2 separate regions of the Homo sapiens genome follow, and region 1 is linked to region 2. The links are contacts of gene promoters, found by promoter capture Hi-C in human tissues and cell types (Jung and others, 2019). All regions are on one chromosome and are shown on one strand. Each heading gives the region's core, a stretch centred on a gene start or on the middle of the fragment in contact. The rest is flanking DNA. Distances are from core to core; before and after follow the strand shown.

Region 1 (3,040 bases), core at 190-2,689, 710 kb before region 2:
CCGTGCATTGAACTCAGTCATCACTCTGATCCTCTCAGTCTTCTTACTATTTATAACACAAGGAGTTTCAGTTGAATAATGTCTAAAATGCCCCCTGGTTCTGACACTTGTGTGACACAAGAAAAAACATCAAAGTGCTAGTAAGTAGCCAGCACCTTACTAGTATGAAGGAGAGGCCTAATAGTAGACTCTGAAGGTGCCTTGAAAGAAGGGGAGCAGAGAATAAGCAACTATCTCCCAAAGACCCATTCTTTCAGGATACCCCAGGAGGGCTGAGCGAGGGTGCCAGAGAAGTTTGCCTGGTTTGCTGGCCTGAAGGACAGCAGTACCACGAGGGTCGTCTTTGAACTACAAGTGCCACCCCCATAGGGTTTTTCAAGCTTCAACCTTCAAACAGCCTCCTGGTGGTGACAGACCTGTGGTCTGGGCCCTGGTTTATGGCTCTGAGAAGCAGAGCTCCATCACATGGAATCCAGTGGCCACATTCCTTTTGGGAAGCCCTCCTCTGTTTCCAGTGGCTAACCCTGTCTCCTGCCAGGTCCATTTTTCTTTTCTATGTAGTTCTTTGAGGCCTTCCTATGGTGCCCATTTGCACTATGAGCTTGTCTCTGCGGGAGGACTGTCTCCCTTTGTTCCTCACTCCTGGATTCATCTTCATGAGGGAGAGGATGTAGTCTTCAACCCAACCAGAGCTGAGGCATATGGCTCCCTGGATACGCCAGTTCCCCTCATAGGCCGGCTGCCCTCCTGAGACCTCTGACTTACCACAACAAGGCTGCGTGCAGCCTTCAGCCCTGCTAGGAATGATAGGGGTCATAACGATAAAAACAATCATAGTTAACATTTACTGAGGCTTTTCTATGTTCCAGTCACTGTTCCAAGTGCTCTATGTCTATTTTCTCATTTTTCAGCATGAAAAGGACCTTTCCAATGCCCTAGCCCCATGACTACCCTATCTTCCTCAACCAGTTCTTGAAAAGAAACACTGGTCAGAGACAGAAATCCACAAAGAGCAAGTTAAGGAAAACATTAGAGCCAGTGTACTGCTACCCCAGGTGGAACACAGATGTGTGCAGAGGGTACACAAAGTCACAAGATAAATGTGTTCTTTACAATTTTACTAAAACCATCTTTTTAGGGGATGGGGAGTAATTTAAGGCATTATTTTTACAGAAAATAACTTTGTATGATAGAAAAATTCAAATGAGTTACATTAAATTTTTTTAGCATTTTCACTTTGAAATAATTTAAAACGTATATAAAAGTTTCAGAAAGCATACACAGAGCTCCCCTATATGCTTCACCCAGTTCCCCAATTATTAACATTTCTGAGCTATTTCAGAACAAGTTACAGACATGATGCTCATTACCCCTTAATACTTCAGTGACTATTTCCTAATTACAAGTACTCTCGTGTGCATAACCACAGTACAGCCACCAAAAAGGGGAAATTGACATTGATCCATTATTATTATTACCACAAATGAAATTTAAAGATAGCATATAAAACACTCATATGCACGGCTATTTTATAAATATTAGTTAAGTGAAAGAAGCTTCAGAGAAAGCCCAAGCTCATTGGGCACTACTTTAGGTGTTTTAGTTCATCTTCCTCTGTGGTTACTAGCACTTCAGGGGAAATTCTGGGAAGCATTGCTCTGCAGGTTCTAGTTGACCATGAAGATCCTGTTCTGGATATGCCAAATTCAAGGGTAAAAAGTGGTAACCCTTACCAAAGATAAATGCTTGGGATATCTCAGGCCCACCCGGAGCTCCACCAAACAGGATCTCTGTAATGTTTTCACCCTGGTCCGGAGTAGCAGATGGGAGGTCCAGGCCCTTTTTCTTGTTGCATATCCTTATTTATGTTTCCAGCAGCCAATGGCACGGCCAGGGACATGCTTGACTAGTTTGCCATCAATTCCTCATGTACTGTTTTTTTCCCATCTCAATGATACAATATGAGCATTCAGGTGAAGGTCAGAAATGCAACGTGTCAGGATTACGGGCACTTAATACTCTTTTGGATGAACATGCTTTTGTCTCAAATCCGGGGGTCTGCCCATTTGCAGATTGATTTGCCAGTCCATGTATGATTTGATCTTGAAAGATATCTGGGCTGGGCACAGTGGCTCACCTGTAATCCCAACACTTTGGGAGGCCAAGGCAGGCAGAACATGAGGTCAGGAGTTCAAGAGCAGCCTGACCAACATGGTGAAACCCAGTCTTTACTAAAAATACAAAAATTAGCCGGGCATGGTGGTGCATACCTGTAATCTCAGCTACTCAGGAGGCTGAGGTAGGTGAATCGCTTGAACCTGGGAGGCCAAAAAGCTCAACAAGGTTGCAATGAGTCGAGATCGTGCCACTGCACTCTAGCCTGGGTGACAGAGCAAGACTCTATCTCAAAAAAAAAAAAAAAAGAAGAAAGATGTCTGAGATCCATTTGATATTGAATGCCACTTTGTAAATATCACAAGGCTTGTTCAAAAAAGCCCGAGTTCTTGCCTAAATTATTCATGTAATCTTGGGCAAAGTGTTTAAGTCCTCAGGGTTATTTTGCTCATTTGCAACATGAGGAAGGCATGACTAGATGATCTCCGAGAACACTGGACAAGATGTCTTGCAGCATTATAATGTTATGATTACTACTGGGAGAGCCCTAAAGCCATGGAGATAGGAAATTTCATCTTGTGCTAAATGCCACGACCCAAGCAGGAATTTGTACTAATTCACACCACAGTTAGTTTATGTTTTAAATGTGTAAGTTCAACTAAGTTTCTATGAAAAAACCATAGAAAGTAATGACCACAATGTTTTTCTGCTATAACCAATCCACTGGACATGAGTCACAGGCGTTGGTGGAGGTTTTGAGTGATGAAAAATGAACCAGAAAATGGAGCTGAATCAGAGGGTGGGAAAAATATAAGAGGCTTCCACGATGGAAGTGAGGGGATAGTAAGCCTTCCTAAGGACTAATTTAAATATCTCAGGAGGGGAAGTTGGAAATGTCACTAGAGCCCTGTCTCCATCAATTGCT
Region 2 (2,983 bases), core at 469-2,968:
ACAGCTGTTGTGGTAAAACAGAAACTTGTCAGGATTAACTTTGCCCGCCCAACCAATCCTGGTCTTTCCTTAGACCCCAATCCATCTCAAATACATGAAAATGAAGATTCAAGGCAGTAGATTAGTGCTGTGGTATGCCCAAAGGATAGAGAAATTAATTATTCCCTGAAAGAAGGACGAAATAGGAGTTGAAATAACAAGATATCATCCCCAGATCCACTCCTACCAGAGACCCTTTTGCTGGCCCATGACCTTCCTGGCATACCATCTTGCTTGTCTTCTGTCCTGTCCTTATTAGCTTTTCCTCCAGCCACAGGCATCTTTTTCGACTCCTGTCTCTGGCATCTACGAGTTTTCTTGGCAGGGGAAGAGTCTTCTGGAGCCGTGTTGCCATTATTAACTCTTTTGCTTTCATTTAATGCTACAGAATTTGGAAATTAGCAAAGAATGAGTACACACCCGAATACGTGTAGATTTTAAAGATTGAAAAAAATCTTTTAAAGAAATGGTTTAAGATAATTTTCTCTCTTTTTTTGTTTTGAGGTGGAGTCTCACTCTCTCGCCCAGGCTGGACTGCAGTGGTGCGATCTTGGCTCACTGCAACCTCCGCCTCCTGGGTTCAAGTGATTCTCGTGCCTCAGCCTCCTGAGTAGCTGGGATTACAGGCGTGCACCACCATGCCCAGTTAATTTTTGTATTTTTAGTAGAGACAGGGTTTCACCATGTTGGCCAGGCTGGTCTCGAACTCGTGACCTCAAGTGATCTGCCCTCCTCGGCCTCCCAAGGGATTACAGGCGTGAGCCACCTCACCCCGCCGGTTTAAGATAATTTTCTAAGTTTACAGAGGCAATAACAACTGTCCCACACTACTTTTGTGTAACAGTCTGTGTAATTCTTCCTAAATTGCTATTCTAGCCAAATGAAATAAAACAAAATAAAAGGGAGTCCCAGGAGTCTTGTAAGCTCATAGATTGAGGCCTGCTTATCTGTTTTACTTGTGTCCCAATGTCCCCCAAATACCCACCTCATACATGAGGCCGTATGGGATAAAGGTTAGTTAAGTGCTCAAGGGTCTGTGCCTAATTTAGAGCCTAGCTCTGCTGCTTTTCTCTGTGGAAACTTGGAGAAGTATTTGATCTCTTCCTACTTCACTTACTCCAATATTAGAATATTGTACAATACTGTACTTCTAGAGAAGTACAATAGAACCTAATTTATAGGGTGCACCTATGCATTTAAGAACATTATACACATAATACCGTATCTCAATAGGTCTAAGACTCGCATTTTACTCTCTGGAACTGGGATGCATCTTACAATGGATGACATAAGCAGTGAATCACAGTTCACCATTTTCAGTGCTTATCCTTTGTTGTGTATAAAATAATGGTGTGCCTTACAATTACTTTTTGTAAATTGGATGACATTAGGTATTAACAACAGTACTGGCACATTAGTTGTTACAGCTCCGCAAGGCTTTATGCACAATTATGTAATCCCCAAAGCTCTGAAAACCGAAATTTACAAAATTTAGCACCCCAACTGGTTTGGTAGCCAAGTGCAGGTTATAGGGAGCTGGAAGGGGAAGGGGGTCACAGTAGGTGGCATCGTTCCTTTCTGACTGCCCGCCCCCCGCATGCCGTCCCGCGATATTGAGCTCCGAACCTCTCGCCCTGCCGCCGCCGGTGCTCCGTCGCCGCCGCGCCGCCATGGAATTCGAACGCTGACGTCATCAACCCGCTCCAAGGAATCGCGGGCCCAGTGTCACTAGGCGGGAACACCCAGCGCGCGTGCGCCCTGGCAGGAAGATGGCTGTGAGGGACAGGGGAGTGGCGCCCTGCAATATTTGCATGTCGCTATGTGTTCTGGGAAATCACCATAAACGTGAAATGTCTTTGGATTTGGGAATCTTATAAGTTCTGTATGAGACCACTTTTTCCCATAGGGCGGAGGGAAGCTCATCAGTGGGGCCACGAGCTGAGTGCGTCCTGTCACTCCACTCCCATGTCCCTTGGGAAGGTCTGAGACTAGGGCCAGAGGCGGCCCTAACAGGGCTCTCCCTGAGCTTCGGGGAGGTGAGTTCCCAGAGAACGGGGCTCCGCGCGAGGTCAGACTGGGCAGGAGATGCCGTGGACCCCGCCCTTCGGGGAGGGGCCCGGCGGATGCCTCCTTTGCCGGAGCTTGGAACAGACTCACGGCCAGCGAAGTGAGTTCAATGGCTGAGGTGAGGTACCCCGCAGGGGACCTCATAACCCAATTCAGACTACTCTCCTCCGCCCATTTTTGGAAAAAAAAAAAAAAAAAAAAAACAAAACGAAACCGGGCCGGGCGCGGTGGTTCACGCCTATAATCCCAGCACTTTGGGAGGCCGAGGCGGGCGGATCACAAGGTCAGGAGGTCGAGACCATCCAGGCTAACACGGTGAAACCCCCCCCCATCTCTACTAAAAAAAAAAAATACAAAAAATTAGCCATTAGCCGGGCGTGGTGGCGGGCGCCTATAATCCCAGCTACTTGGGAGGCTGAAGCAGAATGGCGTGAACCCGGGAGGCGGAGCTTGCAGTGAGCCGAGATCGCGCCACTGCATTCCAGCCTGGGCGACAGAGCGAGTCTCAAAAAAAAAAAAACCGAGTGGAATGTGAAAAGCTCCGTGAAACTGCAGAAACCCTTTGGGAACAGAGGGAACCATGGGGCAGGAAGCCCACGAAAATTCTAATTGGTCTTCTGGTTCTTGGTGACATCAGGTGAGGGGCGCCCAAATGTTTGGCTTCATGAGAATCACCGAGTATGGGGACTGCATACTTAAGCAAATTCCCCACCCCAGACCCTCCGATTCAATAAGCCTGTATTAACAAAATCACTGGGTAATCCTGGTTTTGGCACTAATATCATTTAGAAACATATTGTTAGGATAGCATAGTATCTGTTATAGAGCAACCTGAGCAAAATAGCGAAACCTCGTCTCTATTACAAAAAAAAAAAAA

What was found. The method cuts DNA at HindIII sites, captures the fragments that hold promoters and counts their contacts. A contact is called where the count stands out against the background at its distance.
Region 1: a fragment that was not itself captured here is called in contact with the fragment with the promoter of PARP2 in region 2 in 1 of the 25 tissues and cell types used here (dorsolateral prefrontal cortex).

Annotation. Positions count from the first base shown.
Region 1 is chr14:21,049,150-21,052,189 of GRCh38, reverse strand. It overlaps a transcript of NDRG2 not described here. Among named protein-coding and RNA genes, the nearest start is that of RNASE8, 7.2 kb to the left of the region's middle. The HindIII fragment of the contact is 6,049 bases long and covers 1-3,040 here.
Region 2 is chr14:20,342,370-20,345,352 of GRCh38, reverse strand. It overlaps PARP2 (poly(ADP-ribose) polymerase 2), which reads right to left and starts at 1,718. Exons shown (of 16, transcript NM_001042618.2): 1 at 1,666-1,718; 2 at 266-421. The coding sequence starts at 1,711. It also overlaps RPPH1. RefSeq lists enhancers at 1,636-1,805, 2,736-2,835. The HindIII fragment of the contact is 9,658 bases long and covers 1-2,983 here.